Regions from separate parts of the Homo sapiens genome. Here regions 1, 2 and 4 are each linked to region 3. Evidence: promoter capture Hi-C in 16 types of primary human blood cells and fetal thymus (Javierre and others, 2016). All regions are on one chromosome and are shown on one strand. The core of a region is centred on a gene start or on the middle of the fragment in contact, and the rest is flanking DNA. Distances in the headings are between cores, read along the strand shown.

Region 1 (4,440 bases), core at 317-2,816, 570 kb after region 3:
TCTCCATTAAACAACGCCAATTTTGTGAGGGTAATGGGCAATCCAAGTAGGAACACAGGAACACCAATTCTTCTAAGGCCTTGACTGGTAATAAGCGGCTGTCTGTCCAGGCAGCATAAATTTAGAAAGACTTATTCGATTCCTTACCCCTTTGATGGTACAATTCACCCAAGTGTAAAAGCTGGAATACAAACAGCATCCCTTTGTGAGATTAACAAGGTTCAAAACTACAAAGAGCACACACATGAGAGAAATCCAGTGCCAGACAGCCATTGGTATTAGGGCTTGAGAATTCCTTTTAAATTAACCTCATGAGGCTCTTACCTCTGCTCTCATGCGTTTTGCTCGTCGGGCTGGGGGGCACGTTTCCGAAGGCTGCACAGACTGCCTCTGGGGAATATCATGGGGTTTGTACTCCTTGTCCTTAGTGTCTGTGGTCAGGTTTGGCTTCTGCAAACACTAGAAATAACAACTGTACTGATAAATTCCCTCCTTTTTTTTTTCACATCATAAGTTTATTGACAAACATATCTAGCATGCCACATGAGTTCGAGTTTGATCTACTTCCAGAGGCTGCACCTCTTAAAATACTCTTCATATCTGTTAAATGGAGGAACTGAAACACCCTTATGTTTTAAGCAGTTGGTGTCTTACTACAAGGAAGGGTATAGCAAACGCAGATCCAAAGTACAAACACATCTTAGCTAGTAACGACCACTTGTTTTCCACTGAAAATGGCAAATTCTTCCCAGGGCCCTCCTCACAGTGGCTCCTACGGACCACAGAGGCTGTGAACCTCCGGATGCTCTAGCCCAACATAGCGCTGCTGGAAGCTCTGCGAAAGGTGCAGAGACCGAGGAAGGATGAAATGGCGGCACCTCACCAAGACCTTTTTTTCACGACCTTGTTCCCCGGTGTGCAAGGACTGAAAGGATTCCCTCCTTTTTTAATCTTAGAGAGTTTCACTGGATTTTTGTAAGGTACATTTTACAACTATTTATGTAGACAACAGGCCTACAATTTTTAAAAATCTAAATAAAAATAAAGACAAGTCTGCAGTTACCAACCACATACATACATCTATACAGGTTTAAAACATTAAAAAAAATTTTAACAGGTGGTGTTGCTTTGATTTTTCATTGCTGACATCATCAGGTTACAACAGGCCATAACAGTCTCAAGGCATTCCCAATGAACCACTTGGAGTTATTTGTGCTTGCGACTGTCAGTTAATGGAAGGTCCATATTGTTAGAAAGGCCCCTTATAAGCTCCCAAAACAATTTTCCATATTAAAAATCTCATTTTTAACAAGTGTTCGGAATAAAAAAAAATAAGGAATCCAATATGTTTTCTAGATTTTACAACTGTATAGTTTCAGATATAACTAGCAAAGTTATCATCCAAAGATATCACCTGAATTGAGAAAACAGGTCATTTGACTAAAGTAGTCTTCCTCACTAGGGTTTCCATTTACCACAGTATATCCCTACAAAGTCTAACTCGCAAGGCAAAGATCAACGGGTAGCCCACAGCAATAACTTTGGTTCTGATCAGAAATGCATCTCTTCTTTGGTTTTTCTTTTTAGTTTTATTCTAAGCTGGCTAAAGGAGGGTATTTAATGCCAATATAACATTAACACGACAAAATATTGCCACCGAAGCTAATATGAATTTCAGGTAAGCACTACTTTTTCATAACAGGACCCAGGAACATCACGAAAAACCTTTGTAAAAGTAAGTTCCAAAAGTAACCCTCTAGGGTGTGTTATAGCAGCTATATCTGGAATGAGATACGTGGAAATAACAACCTTCCTGAAGCACTAACACTATGAGCATAGTTACTACCATAGAATCTCACTAATGAGATTCGCCCCTTTCCCCCTCACATTTGCAGAAATACAGAGACTGGGCGAAGAACAAAATAAAGTACAAAGCAACACAATGATAAAATTTATTTCTAATAGTTAAGAAATATGATATACTATTAAAAACTGACTCATTACTTGTTAACAAGTAATAAATCTACCACTGGTAATAGCGCTCTATAAATATTAAACATTCTGCTCATTCTACTTAAACCTACATATTGATTTGATCCAGAAAAGTTAACTATTCTTTTTTTTTTTTTTTTTGAGATGGAGTTTCGCTCTTGTTGCCCAGGCTGGAGTGCAAAGGTGCAATCTCGGCTCACTGCAACCTCCACCTCCCAGGTTCAAGCAATTCTCCTGCCTCAGCCTCCCAAGTAGCTGGGATTACAGGCATGCACCACCACGCCCGGCTGATTTTGTATTTTTAGTAGAGACGGGGTTTCTCCATGTTGAGGCTGGTCTCAAACTCCTGACCTCAGGTGATCAGCCCGCCTCAGCCTCCCAAAGTGCTGGGATTACAGGTGTGAGCCACTGCACCCGGCCTACGGCCTATTATATTCTTTTTTTTTCTTTTTTTTTTTTTTGAGACAGAGTCTCGCTTTGTCGCCCAGGCTGCAGTGCAGTGGCGCCATCTTGGCTCACTGCAAGCTCCACCTCCTGGGTTCACGCCATTCTCCTACCTCAGCCTCCCAAGTAGCTGGGACTACAGGCACCTGCCACCACACCCAGCTATTTTTTTGTATTTTTAGTAGAGACAGGGTTTCACCGTGTTATCCAGGATGGTCTCAATCTCCTGACCTCGTGATCCACCTGCCTCAGCCTCCCAAAGTGCTGGGATTACAGGCGTGAGCCACTGCGCCCGGCCGCCTGGCCTATTATATTCTTAATAGTTAAGCACTTACATTCTGAAAAAAGTTGGTCAGGTGCAGTGGCTCAAGCCTGTAATCCCAGCACTTTGGGAGGCCAAGGCAGGTAGATCACTTGAGGTCAGGAGTTCGAAACCAGCTTGGCCAACATACTGAAACCCCGTCCTTACTAAAAGTACAAAAATTAGCCAATGTGGTGATGCATGCCTGTAATCCCACCTACTCGGGACACTGAGGCAGGAGAATCGCTTGAACCAGGGTGGCGGATGTTGCAATGAGCCGAGATCATGCCACTGCACTCCAGCCTGGGTGACACAGCAAGACTCTGTCTCAAAAAAAAAAAAAAAAAAAAAAAAAAAATTATGAGACAAATTAAACACCCAACAATTGAGAGAAAAAAATATTCTGTTTTTTGAAAAAATTTGTATAGAACATTGCCTTCTATTCTATAACAAGTCCTCAGTTGAGCATTTAGAGTATGTTTAATGAAAGCATGCAGAGGGGAATAAAACCTGTTCATCATCTAAATTAATCCCCTTTATGTATCCAATGTACTTTCTATTTGACACACAAAAGTATGAGTGATTAGGAAAATACTAATTGAGCTGAATGACATAAATTGTATTAAGTGGATGATCACAAATTCAGATGCTATATACGTGGTTCCTATCTCCTACTAGTTAGTCTCAATGGTTCCATCATCTATGGTCAGCTTGGTTCTGTAAGGACTTTGCAGATCTAAGAAAATCATGCCCTGTAGTTTTTTAGAATAAATATGAAGAGCTTTATTATTTTGTTCCAAACCACAATTAAAAATACACACGATATGGTTTTATATCTAATGTTATTAACATACAGACGCTAATTTTAACCTTTACTTGAGAAACCAGGACTTACAGGTGATTAATATCATCATCATGCCATAATCACATCATCCCAAAGACAGAGCAATCCCTTAAAACATTTAGAAAACATGATGATGCAAGATTGAGGCCTCTGTTCCACTGGAACAGTGCATCAACTTTTCTCAAGCTTCCTGAAATTTAACTTACACCCTACTTCACCCTTTTGCAATAATTCCTTTACTGTACACCTCTGTTTTTCTTAAGTATATGTTCTTCAATTCTTCTCTCCCTAATAACTATTTCAAAAATCAGAAATAGGTGTAAAAATTTACATACAAGGAATATTCATCATAGTATTATAATAAAAAACTAGAACTGACCTAAACATTCTACAATAGAAGACATCAAAATAAAGTCTGGCTATAAAAAACGGATTGCCGCAGTCATTAGAAATTGCATTTTCAAAAACTATTCAATGATACAGCAAATGCTCATATGATTAGTAAAAAAACCTAAGATGCAATGATGTATATGAACAGTACACTTGAATTTGTGAATGTATGCATAAAAATAGCCGTGAGAGAAGTAACAGGTGGAAGGATCAGGAGTGATTTTATTTTTGCCATACTTTCCTATGTTTTTAAACTTTCTACAAAGAATGTGTATCACTTCCTAAAACATACTTGGCACAGAGTAAGTCCCTCACAAATATCTACCTATATTGTAGATGCAATGTTTACAAAAGGGTACCTTTAAATGCTTATTCCTTTCAGACTCCTTGATTGTATAAATACTTAAGTGCTTTTTAACCATAAAACTACATTGCCTTTTTAAGTATATAAGTGACATGTTTCTAAAAT
Region 2 (4,474 bases), core at 393-2,892, 550 kb after region 3:
ATGCCAAAAGCAACTTCAACAAAAGCAAAAACTGACAAATGGGATCTAATTAAAGAGCTTCTGCACAGCAAAAGAAACTATCATCAGAGTGAATAGACAACCTACAGAATGGGAGAAAATACTTGCAAACTGTGCATCTGACAAAGGTCTAATATCCAGCATATATAAGGAACTTAAAACAAATTTACAAGAAAAAAACATTAAAAAGTAGGCAAAGGATATGAAAAGATACTTTTCAAAAGAAGACATACGTATGGCCAACAATCATATGAAAAAAAGCTCAACATCACTGATCATTAGAGAAATGCAAATCAAAACTACAATGAAAGGCCGGGCGCAGTGGCTCACGCCTGTAATCCCAGTACTTTGGGAGGCCGAGGCAGGCAGATCACAAGGTCAGGAGTTCAAGGCCAGCCTGACTAACATGGTGAAATCCTGTCTCTACTAAAAATACAAAAATTAGCTGGGCATGTTGGCACGTGCCTGTAGTCCCAGCTACACAGGAGGCTGAGGCAGGAGAATTGCTTGAACCCAGGAGGTGGAGGTTGCAGTGAGCCGAGATCGCACCACTGCACTCCAGTCTGGGTGACAGAGCAAGACTCCGTCTCAAAACAAAAACAAAAACAAACAAAAAAAACACCACAATGAGATATCACCTCATACCAGTCAGAATGGCTATTATTAAAAAGTCAAAAAGTAACATGCTGGCAAGGTTGTGGAGAAAAGGGAACGCATATACACTGTTGGTAGAAGTGTAAATTAGTTCAACGATTGTGGAAGACAGTGTGGTGATTCTTCAAAGATCTAAAGACTGAAATACCATTTGACCGAGCAATGCCATTACTGGGTATATACCCAAAGGAATATACATCATTCCATTTATAAAGACACATGCATGTGTATGTTCACTGCAACACTATTCACAATAGCAAAGACATAGAATCAACCTAAATACCCATCAATGATAGACTGGATAAAGAAAAATGTGGTACATATACACCATGGAATACTATGCAGCCATAAAAAAGAATGAGCTCGTGTCCTTTGCAGGAACATGGATGGAACTGGAGGCAATTAGTTAGCAAACTAACACTAGGAACAGGAAAGCAAATACTGCATATTCTCACTTATTAAGTGGGAGCTAAATGATGAAAACACATGGATGCATACAGGGGAGTAACACGTGAACACATACAGGGGAACAACACACAATGGAGCCTATTGGAGGGTGGAGGGCAGGAGGAGGGAGAGGCTCCAGAAAAATAACTAATGGGTACTAAGCTTAATACCTGGATGATGAAATAATCTGTACAACAAACGCCCATGACACAAGTTTATCTATGTAACAAGCTTGCACATATACCCCTGAGGTGAAAAGTAAAAAGCAAAAAACAAACTATATTTTCATAAGAAAAAAGAGAGAGAGAGATATAAAGGGTAGCAGTGACTTTCAAAGGTAATGACAAGTGCCAGGGACCTTAACTTTAATTAGAACTAAGAAGTGATAAACTACCATTTCAGAGACTCCTGATTTAGTGTCATGCTGCCTTTGTCACAAGATGCTTTGTTTTTGTTTTTGTTTTTTTAAAGATTTCAACATCTTTGTAAGAAATGTGAAATTTTTATTTCTGAGACAAAAATAAAGGTTTCCTAACAATATCGTTTTTGTTAAGTAAGTGATGTTGCACAACTCATATAACAAAATTTCACTGGGATGTAAGGGCAACTGCCTTATCCACTCTTGGTTTTAAAACCTTCTCTGCCGGTGCTCTGTAAACCGGGCTATGTAGAGGGGCTAACCAAGGATGAGGTCAGGCTGTTTCAAGAAATGTTTTGTTGACTTTAATTTGGCTACATCACAATAAGCCCCAATTTGCCAATCACCAAGTCACTTTCTGTATCACATACTTTTCTTCTTGTTGATCTTTGCCTCCAAAGCTTCATTCACATTCAAGGCCCATTCGTTGTAAGATTCTGCTCGAAGCTTCAATGCATTCATCATAGGGTAGAGATCATCCAGCGTGTACCTATACCTGGAAATAATACCACCACACTTAGCTTTGAGACGTGTAGCTTTGGAGAAAACTAGATGTTTTATACTTAACATTTCAGCCCTAGAACTGCGGTATCATTGAGCTTTTAGTAAGGATCAACTGTTTTCCATAGGAAAAAAAATCGTTCTTCCTACTTACCGCAATTTATATTTGTAAGGAGGACAGGAACACAATTCTTTTACATGATGCAGGCAAACAAGAAGGCCAGGTTTACAAGAACAGGAGATGGCAGACATGAAGCATGTAGTTTTGCATTTTACACACTGACGTTCATCATCTGGCAACAGCTCAAAATCCATTCTTTCCGAATCAATCACTCCCTAGAATAAAGTATACTTTAGAGAGACCTCCAAAGGATAATATAATCCACCAGCCCAAGACAAACATGCAGTAGTACTTGAGTCTGAAAAAAAAAAAAAAGCTTTACCAAAATAGGGATGCATGATTAAAAATGTGTGGCATACAAAGAAACAAATGACCTAGCAAATACAGGCAAGTTCATTTGTCTAGGGAGATCTCCTTTTTCAGACAAGGCAGGTCCTTATGTTTGGTCATTTTGATCTGAGTATGAACACCATAGGACTGTAAAACTACTGAGATTAGTTATCTGTTCTACTACAAATTAGCCTTGTCCACATTTTGGGTATAGATAAGAGGTATAGATAAGATTAAAAGAAAGGAATATGTTTCCTACTTCTGAGGAAATATGGAGAATCTATTAAAAGGACAAAAATAAAAGGAAAGAAGATGGGACGAGTGGAAAAGACTATCGTGCAGAAATTGAGTTTGGGAAGATGCTGAGTGGTCTCTCAGCCTTTTACAGGAAGTTATATGAAAGGATATCATTAACTGAATAGTTAGAAAATTTGTGCAATAGCAAAGACTAAAGTCATAATTAAACATTTCCTCCTAAAAGACTGTCAGGAAAAATAAGGTCTTGAACCAGTAAATTTCAACATAATCTGTACCACCTAACATCTAGAGAACCCTTCTTGGATACACCTTTTGTCATTTAAAGACCAAACTTCTATCACCTTTTCTCCCTATCTAAAACTGGATCCTAATCCAGCCTTGAGAATGCCAGTCGTTTATGAACTACTGGGCTTCTTTCTTTTATTCTGTTATCCTGTATTTTAACCTTTTAACTATTTCATATCTGCCAATTATATGGGCCAACAAAGATGAGGAAGGTAAGGAAAATGCTAATTAGATTTTGGTTTTATTCTTGAATTGGTCATTAAAAAGGACTTCATGGGATGGAGAAAGTTAACATTTTTGTTTAAAATAAGATTAAGGACCAACTCCATGGATTTTAATTGAGAATCAATCATGTAGTTCATACCTAATTTTAATTTGTAAATTCCATATATGGAAAAAGTCTCAGAGTTCTAAAAATGAGCTACCATTTTTGATGTAAGACTTTGGTAAGTTACTTAAACCCTCTGGGCACTATTTTCCCCCAACTGTAAAATATAAGAGGGTAAGGTAGGTAACCTGCTGTTAAAATGTAAATGGGCTGCAGAGAGCCAATATTCCAGGATTCTACCCAAAAAGGCACATATTTTTAAAAAAAAAAAAAAAAACAGTATTACTATTTGCAGATATTATTATTCTAAAAGAATCCATGAAAAAGCTACTGGGAATTAAGTGACTTTAGCAAGGTCTCAGGAGACAAGGTCAATATACAAGTCAATTGTCTCTCTAAATACTAGCAATAAACAATTAGAAATTCAGTTTTTAAAAGTACAATTTATAATAGTGCCAAAAAACATGCAATATAAAATTATACTATGTTCATGAATTGGAAGACTCAATATTATTAAGATATCAATTCTCCCCCAAACTATCCATAGTTTCATGCAGTCTCAATCAAAATTCCAACAGGAATTGATTTGGTAGAAATCAATAAGCTGATTCTAAAATGTACATTAAAAAAAGTAAAAGAGATAAAACAATTTTTTAAAAAAAACAAAGTTAGAAGACTCATACTACCTGATTTCAAGACTTCTTAGAAAGCTACAATAATCAAGACCATTTAGTATTAGCAATAGAATAGATGCATAGATCACCAGAACACAAGAGTCCAGAAATAGACCCATACTTATGTGGTGAATTGATTTTCAACAAAGGTGCCAAAGCAATTTAATGAAGAAAAGATAGTCTTTTCAAGAAATGCTGCTGGAAGAACTAGATATCCACATGCAAAAAAATGAACCTTGACTCATATTTTTGAAAAACAAAAATTACTTGAAATAGATGAAAGACCTAAATGTAAAACTTCAAACTATGAAATTCTAGATGACTTTGTAGGAGAAAATCTTTGTAACTTTGGATTAGGCAAGATTTATTAAATAGGAAACCAAAAAAACATGATTCACACAAGAAAATAATTAACAAACTGGACTTCATCAAAATGAAAA
Region 3 (4,068 bases), core at 14-2,513:
ATGGCACCAACTGGAGGCCTAGGGTCAAGGTCTGCTCATTTCTTGGTCCAGCTATGCAGCCCCTCTAGCCCTGGGAGGTTATTGGGAGAGTGGAGAGGTGTTGATGAGAGGATCCTGGCATGTGGAAAGACAGGGTGGAAGAAATCCTGGATGCCTCTGAGGTCCCAGGTTTCTAGTATACCCTCTGGCTGGACCATGGGGAGATAGGGCAAAAAAAGGAAGGAGGGGGGCCCACAGCCTGCTCTAGCTCTGCGCGGGGGCTTGGCTCAGCATGGGAGAGACCAGAGAGAGCAAGAGGCTGCATGAAGGAAGCACAGCCAGCTCACTATGGTCTAAGGAGAGAACAGGGATTGACCTCAGTTTTAACCACCATGCCCTTTGCTCTCCAGGGCTCTGGGGCCGGCCCAGGTCAGCCACTTGGTGGGATTCCAGCCTCAGGGTGGCTGAGCTGCAGGTGCAGCACCCGGCCTCCAGGTGGCACCAATCCGCTTACTTTGAGGTGGGCTCTGACAACCAGCTGAGCTGCCCACAGTCCCTCAGACTCCCGAGGTCCTGGGAGCAGGGATCAAGGTGGTCCCCAGGCCGTAAACCTGACAGAGGCTGCAGGAGTGCATTTCCACCCAGGGTGCACTCAGCGGGTGTAACTCCACACCCGTTTCTTTGGAGTCAAGGCCCGGCCTCTCAGTGAGGAGACTGCTCCTGGTTGCCCACCGTCGGGTCATCCCAGCCTGCAGTGGAACCCTCCGCAGCCTGGCCTCTTCCAGGGTAGCCCCTCACTCCCCTCTCTCCTGTCCTAGCAGACAGGCCAGGGAGGGTGGACGAGTTCCAGCTCTGGGGATGTCCCATCAGCTGTGTCACCTTGAACAAATCATTTTGCCTCTTGGGTCTCAGTTTCCTGCAGTGTGAAACGTGGTGGAGGCATGAGGGGCAATGGGAGCCCCAAGGCCTCTTTCAGAGACCTCCTCTGGGTCCCATGTGACCTCGTGGCTGTCCCCAAAGGCAAGAGGGTCCCCAGCCCTGCGGCCAAGGCCCTGGGACACCCTATCCAAACAAATGCAGGTCTCTGACGGGCTGAGCTTTGCTCGCTTGGGTTTCTTTGCTTTCTTCCTTTTTTTTTTTTCTTTCCTGGATGAAATTCCTGCCAGCTCCGAAGGAAGGAGGGAAGAGGAGCGAGCCGCAGTGTAGAAAGTTTCCTTGACTCCTCCTCCGGCTGGGTCTCCCTCCCTTGCCAAGCCCAGCCTGTGAAACTGAATAACGAAGATCACTCAACAATGCCTGCCCCTCTCTGACTGCACCGTCCCGGCGCTCCCACCGCCGCCGCCGCCGCCCAATAGAGCCCCTGGGGCGGTCCCCACCGACGGTGCAGCCCGCCGGGACCGGGAGGAAGCAGCTGCGGCCATCGCGCCGTGCGTCCGCGCCCGGCCGCCAGGTGCCCCAGTAGCCCGACCGCCGAGATGCCCAGCCCGCCGGGGCTCCGGGCGCTATGGCTTTGCGCCGCGCTGTGCGCTTCCCGGAGGGCCGGCGGCGCCCCCCAGCCCGGCCCGGGGCCCACCGCCTGCCCGGCCCCCTGCCACTGCCAGGAGGACGGCATCATGCTGTCTGCCGACTGCTCTGAGCTCGGGCTGTCCGCCGTTCCGGGGGACCTGGACCCCCTGACGGCTTACCTGTGAGTACTGCCCGCCTGTCCCCGCCTGGTCCTGCGGGCTGCTGGCTAGCGCCCAGTCCCGGCCTCAGCAGGGCACCTGCTTGCTTGGTGCCCTGGGGCATGGGCATCCCGGAGAGGGTTTGCCCCCTTCCAAGTTGACCGTTGCGGGACTGGGGAGGGGAGAAGAGTCTGAGACTAAATACCAGGCGAGCAGGGAGACCGGGCTTCCCTGACTTGGCTTCCCCATTGGCCTCCGTGCTTGTGGGCTGACTATGGGAGCCCAGGCTTGGCGAGGTGGGTTCTGGACCCTGAGCGGGAGGGCGCGGGGCTGGCTGCTCCATCTCCTGTTGCTGCATTCTCTTCTAGCAGAGCAGTGCCCGGGATGGTGGCTGAGGGTAAAGCTGACAGAACTGGAGGTGGAGGTGAGGGGAGCGTGCCCCAGTAGGGTGGAAATAATGTCTGTTCTTCTGCCATGGTGAGGACAACAGGGCTGTCACACTGAGGCTGGGTGGCCTTCGTGGGGGCGGGGGGGGCGGGTTTCCTAGAAGCTGGGAGGGGGGCCTTATCCACTCTTGTCTCCTCAGAAAGGGACTCTGCCAGCACCATCTCCCTTCACTGGGGCCTCCTGGCTCCCCCAGGGGCCTCCCTAAAGTCATGTCCCAAGAGGCTGTGTTGGAGACACTAATTTGTGGGCAGGCGCCGAGGCTGAAAACCAGAGAACCATTTTTAGCGTCTGAGTTGGGGTGAGATGGCGCGTGAAGGGGACCCTACTGGGGGCAGCTGTCCTGTCTGTCTGGCTCATGGGAGCTTCCCCTCAGAGCTGGAGGGCTGGGGGCTCTGGCTGCTCACCACCTGGGCAGGAGGAGGGTGAGAGAGCACATTCCAGGCCACCCACCTGCACCCCCAGCCCCGCTCTGGGGCAAGGAAACCTCCTCCAGCCCAGCTCTGCAGGCTCTATCAACTTCCTCAGAGGAGCTGGGAGCAGGTGGGAAAGCCTGGTGGGGCCTTCTGCTGAGGGCTAGGATCCCAGAGTTCCTTCTGGCCTGAGAGAGGCTCCTTATGGCTTTGGGGTTCCAGCACATGGGAGCTTAGAGGAAGAGGAGGCTGGGTGAATCTTTATAGGGGCCTAGCAAGAATTTGTGGAACTAAAGATGCTCAGTGTTGGGAGTGTCCTGGTGGGAGGTAGAGGGTCCCAGAGGGCAACTCTTCATGGGGCTCCTCTCCAAATGTCCCTGTCCCCAGGTTGGGATGTCCCCCTCCACTCCAAAAGGCACAGGCTGTGGGCCAGGTAAGGGAGTGGGAAGAGAAAAATAATGTCCATCTAGAAGGACAAATGGAATCCTTCACAGTGCAGTAGGTGACGGCAGAGGCAATCATGGGAATAAAGGTACCAACTGCACAGAGCCTGGGCGCTCAGCATCTGGCAAAGCAGGGCAGGCTCCGGCCCCACCCTACACACAGGCCAGCCCCTCTTTCAGCAGTTTTCTATCCTGGGAGTATGTGACATTGGTTCATTTGAAGACAGGGTCCTGTGGCTAAAGAGTTTAGATGTGACTTCTGTGGAGCCTTTCTCTGGGTGAGCTGAAGGAAGGTCCCTTGCCTGGGTTGAAGGGGCAGGGGAGATAAGGCCTTCCAGAGCTTCCTTTCCCAGCATTAAGTCTTCCTAGACTGGTTAATGACCCTTTTTCTAGAAGGACTTGGGGAAGGAGGTACACTGTCACCTTTGGAATTCAAGCATCCTACCATCCATGCTGGCAGAAGTTTTTCCCACTAGCTTGCCACAATTCCCTCGGAGCTGTGAAGTCTGCATTTGGGTTCAGTGGAGGTGGGGTTTTCTGAGCTGGTCTGTGTCTTCCTGGGGATTGAGAAAGCCCCTCTCTCTCAAGACTCAGGGGATGCTTCTGAGAGTTGTGGAGAGAAGAGAGGGAGTGGGAGCTATAAAGAGTATGATGGGTCCTGAGGCAATATGGGGAATTTAGCAGTGGGGTCTGGAATATTGGAAGGAGGTGGCAGAGGACCGTGTCCCCTGCCCTGGGCTGGGGAGGGGTCCCATCTGGATGGTGCATGAAGGATTCCTACAGTTGTCCTGAGGGTGTCTCAGAGGAGGAATTTTCTTTCTTTGCCCTCTCTGGAGAACAGCTCTACCAGAAAGGCACCTGAAGGTGGGGTTGAGAGCTGGCATGCAGAAGAGCCAGGGTGGGGAAGTCTTGGGGCTCCTTTCTCTTTTCAGCGATGTTAGGAGATGTCCAGCTTGGCCCTGCCCCATGTATCCCAGCCCTTGCTGAGGAGAGCACAGATTCGCATCTGATGATATAATCAGCAGTGCCTCTCTCTGAGCCACTCAAACTTTGGTTCCTTCCTAGCTCTGCCACCTACTGAGAATCACTCACTGAACACCTCTAAGCCTCAGGTTCTTCATGTGT
Region 4 (4,106 bases), core at 1,278-3,777, 520 kb after region 3:
GGCACTGTTCTACACGCTTTACAGGAATTAACCCATTTCATCCTCACCAAGAACAATCTACGTCATAGTTACAAATTTTAGCTCCATTCTACAGATGGCAAGACTAAAAAACAGAGTGTGATTGACTCGCCCAAAATCACAGCAAGTGGCAGAACCAGGATGAACCCTGGCAATCTGGCTGTAGTCACTATACTGCCACTTAGAAAAAAATCTCTGACTTGATGTTTCTCCAATGAAACTATATTATTTATCACAGGCTTCTGGAGTCCAGGAGAAGCCATAACTGAATCCCAGCTTCTCTGGCCTGGCTTCTCTGACTGAGTGGAAGATGAAGAATCAACTTGTTGCCTATGGATGGATTATTCACGTAGGGAATTTAGAACTGCATCTGTCTGGTGGTCCAGGGGCTACTTCTAAAATAACACGAATAGTTATCAGTTCTACAATACTACCCTGAGAGTTAAGCATTATTACCTCTGTTCTTTAGAGAAAACTGTGCAGACATTGTCAGATCATCCTGTTACATGCTCTCGAAGCTTCCTACATACCTTCATAACTCTTGGCACAGTCATGATGAATTCTTTATGTAATTATCTAATTGTGTGGTATTCACTAGATTGTAAATGCCACGAGGGCAGGAAACAGGTCTGTTTTGTTCCCACCTGAATCTCCATTGCCTAGCACAGATTCTCAAAATGCAATAGTGGAACGAATGCAGAAGGGATGCTGAGTGGCTCAGTAACATGTGTAGGGCCTGCGGCTGTGCTCACCTCCCCACCCAGAGAGACTACAATAGTGGCACATGGTAGGTACTCACTAATAAAATACTTGTTGCAAATGTCAGACTTTGTACTTAGCAGCCCTGGGATTTGAACCCAGGCCTGTCTATCTCCTAGCCTCCATTCTTTGGTGCTTCATATTTAACCACTGCACTGAGTGACCCTGCCCCCCCATTACTCCCTCTGACTTGCTGTTCCAGTTCTTAAAGAGTATCCCCACCACCCTGGACCTTCAGTGGTGGGGATACTCTGGCTTCAGCTAGGACCTGCCTAGACTGGGGAAGTCCACAGAGCAAATCCCAAAGCCAAGTGAAGTAGTGTTTCTACTCATCTGCAGCCTTAAGTCCTCCACGAGGATGCTTCTGTCCAGGGAAGGGAATGATGGTCATTCTTCCAGGCAAATGAAGCCCAACCTCCTCCCACTCTGTCCTCACTGCCTTCTGTCCCCCTGCTTCCAGTGCACTCACTGCCCCTCTATCTACTCTCCCCTGAGAGGGCGGCACAGGCCTGGCGGGGAAGAAAAAGGAGACCCCATTGAGATATGATAATGTTCAGATGGAGGCAGAAAGAATGACTAGAGGTCAGGCTTGCCTAGGGGCTGGGGAACACTGGGGTAGCCTGGTCCCCAGGGCTTGAGAAGGGCAAGGAAGAGGCTTCTCCAGCCACCTCCAAAGCCCACCCCCAGGTCTCTGCAGTATCATAGACAGCCCTGTCACACCTGCCTGGAAGCTGCCTAAGGGTAGAAGGAATAAAACGAGCTCCAGCTGCAATGTGAGGGCAGGTGAGCCCAGACCCAGCTCCAGAAAGGGTCTCCTCGGCCCTGCGAGGTCTTCAGCAAGGTACATGCTTTGCCCAGGTGAAACCAGCTTCAGTCCTAAATTGAAGCCAGTTGCAAGCTTCTCTAGGTGAAAAGTCAATGTTTACGAACACCAACACTTTTTGCTTCCCCTGGTCCTGTTCTGCGGATGTCAGACCCCAAAGCTGAAAAAGAAATGTTCCTGCATAATCACCCCCTTCCCCCAAAAGAAAACCCAAGTTCCCTGGACCAAGCTCCTGGACTGCAGAACAAAGCAGACTCCCAGCAGAGTGGTCTGGTCTCTCTTCCTCCAGGGAATGGTGGGCCAGGTCTATGTGAGGCTATAACCTAGAAACTTTCCTCTGCCTCCCTCTCCTCCTCCTTTGGCAAGACAAGGAGGGGAGAAGGTAAGGATTAAGCCCAAAAGATCTCCAGAAAAAGCCAAGCCTCTGGGGGGAGTCCTAGAGGGTGAAGCCAGGGATCTGCCTGGCAGCCAAGCAGAGCAGAGGCAGCCACCCTGAGGGAAAGGTGGTTCAGTCGGGGTTCAGTGGGCACTGGCCATTTTCCAGGGGCATGGGAGGAGATGGGTTGGAGTTGGACTCCCTAGGCTGCAGTGTGCCTGGCGTGGACCCCTGACGCTGACTCACCCCCAGGGCCCTGACACACGCTGCAGCTTGCAGTGCCTGCCAGACCACCACTCTCATTCCACAGGACCAGGATGCCAGGCACGTCCCACTGCATCAGAGCCACCCTGCCCCCTTCCACCTGCCACTCGGGCCCGCCTTTGGGGCACTGGGCATGGCTTTTTTCAGCACCTCTGCTGGTCACAGAGATGTTTCTAGCAGCCCCAAAGCTGGACTTAGTCTTAAGTAGGGAGAGATGGTTGAAAGGATTAAGGGCTTCCCTGCTTCTGTCACCCCCTCTAATGAAGTGCCAGGTTATGGGGATCCAGACAGATTGGATGGAGGACAATCTATTCCACCTGGGAGAGGCCCCGCAGGGCGGCAGCAGTAGGGGAGGGAGAAGGGCACCCTTTTGCTTTCCAGGTCAGACCCCAGTTCACCTTTCTGGCTTCCTGGGCGCCCCCAGATCCTAAGGACTTCCTCCTCCTTATAAGCTAACTCAACCTGTACTACCTGCCCACGGGGCCTCTGCCCTTCCCTCCCCACTGCAGTGGCCCCTCCTGGGCCAGCACCTCTTCTGTCCTTGCACTCCCTTCTCCTGCTGCGGGGAGAGCACCTACTCTGCCACCTCAGCCAGGGGTAAGGGAGGACACTGCCCTGCCAGGAGACACCCCACGAGCCATGGGCTGGGGGTGTCCTGGAGGCACCTGTGGAATGTGGGGATGAAAAGGGAGGAGACAGGATGAGGGGGCCTGGCTTAGTGGGATGTGAAACGATAAAGCTCCACTTTTTAGTTGAAAAATAAAAGCCCTGTGCCCCAGAGGTGGGGGAAGGAGCATAGGCAGGGGAAGGGGGCACCCCAAATGGGAAAGGTACATGGAAGAGTCCAGAAAAGGGAGTCGGGCTGTCAGCACCCGCCAGGCTGCGAGCCTAGCCCTTGGGGACAGAGCTGAAGCAGGGACGGGGCGTCCTAGGTCGTGCTGAGTCATGAGATTTGGAGAGAGGGGAGGGGCGCCTCCAGCCCCTTCTTGGGCCCCTGCCCCAGCTCCTCGTGCCCGTTGCTTCCAGATGGCCCCTGCAGTCTGTCTCCCCAACCTCTCCCTGACCCAGGGTCTCCGGCTCCCAGCGCCCAGACCCCACCCCCCGCCCCACTTCCCACGACGGCGGTGCCAGGGGTCCCCGAAGCTTGAGACTGGGGCAAAAGAACCTTCCTTGGAGACCGCTAGGGCTGGCGGGGGCTGGGCTAGACGCGAGTGGGTTCGTCCCAGGGAAAGGAGAGAGGGACGGGGGCGCAGAGCCGGCCGGTGCAGGGGACGCGTGGCCCGCCCCTCTCTGCAGCAACCCGCGGGAGGAAATCTGCCCCCAGCCCAGCCCCAGTCCCTCAGAGGAGCCGGCTCCTCGCCCCTCGGGTCCGACTCCCCGAGACGAACCTTCCATCCGGACGCTTCCAAACTCCCCCAAAGGACGGGGCAGACTCCCGGCCCCCTTGGCCTCAAACTTCCCCAACCCTACTCACCTCTCGGGACCCAGACCACCCCGTGGCCCCTCGACTCAGTAGCAGGAAAGGAGAAACTTTGGAGAGGGAGGTCCGTGCCCCCACCGGCGGGGGTATGGACTTACCGGAGAGCGACCCGAAGGAGGCGGGAGAGATCCGGGGTCTCCAATGTGAGGGGGCGTCGGACGGCAAGGACGCGTGGCTGGCGACGGTTTCGCAGGGGCGCCCGTTCCCCTGGGGGCGCGAAGTCCCCGCTCCACCGCTGCCCCAACTCGGCTCCGAAGTGCCTTTGCCGCAAGACTTGCTGAGCTTAGCAGTCTGCGCCGAGGCGGCAGAGGGAGGGGGCCTGATCGATGGGCGCGCGCGGCGAGCGCTGCAGTGAGGGGAGGAGACCAAGCGGCGTGGGAGGGCGG

Evidence for each region. The method cuts DNA at HindIII sites, captures the fragments that hold promoters and counts their contacts. A CHiCAGO score of 5 or more calls a contact.
Region 1: a fragment that was not itself captured here is called in contact with the fragment with the promoter of LGR6 in region 3 in 1 of 17 cell types (neutrophils); the score reaches 5.0 in neutrophils.
Region 2: a contact is called between a fragment that was not itself captured here and the fragment with the promoter of LGR6 in region 3, in 1 of 17 cell types (monocytes). The highest score is 6.1, in monocytes.
Region 4: a contact is called between a fragment that was not itself captured here and the fragment with the promoter of LGR6 in region 3, in 8 of 17 cell types (M1 macrophages, M0 macrophages, neutrophils and 5 more). The highest score is 14.5, in M1 macrophages.

What each region holds. Positions count from the first base shown.
Region 1 is chr1:202,766,602-202,771,041 of GRCh38, forward strand. It overlaps KDM5B (lysine demethylase 5B), which reads right to left. Exons shown (of 27, transcript NM_006618.5): 5 at 325-459. It also overlaps the pseudogene COX7CP2. Among named protein-coding and RNA genes, the nearest start is that of KDM5B, 40 kb to the right of the region's middle. The HindIII fragment of the contact is 4,397 bases long and covers 1-3,765 here.
Region 2 is chr1:202,743,950-202,748,423 of GRCh38, forward strand. KDM5B (lysine demethylase 5B) reads right to left here. Exons shown (of 27, transcript NM_006618.5): 15 at 2,193-2,374; 16 at 1,909-2,033. Among named protein-coding and RNA genes, the nearest start is that of SYT2, 36 kb to the left of the region's middle. The HindIII fragment of the contact is 588 bases long and covers 1,349-1,936 here.
Region 3 is chr1:202,192,536-202,196,603 of GRCh38, forward strand. LGR6 (leucine rich repeat containing G protein-coupled receptor 6) reads left to right here and starts at 1,264. Exons shown (of 18, transcript NM_001017403.2): 1 at 1,264-1,666. The coding sequence starts at 1,455. RefSeq lists enhancers at 1-653, 348-397. The HindIII fragment of the contact is 23,199 bases long and covers 1-4,068 here.
Region 4 is chr1:202,706,440-202,710,545 of GRCh38, forward strand. SYT2 (synaptotagmin 2) reads right to left here and starts at 4,015. Exons shown (of 9, transcript NM_177402.5): 1 at 3,819-4,015. The HindIII fragment of the contact is 1,708 bases long and covers 1,674-3,381 here.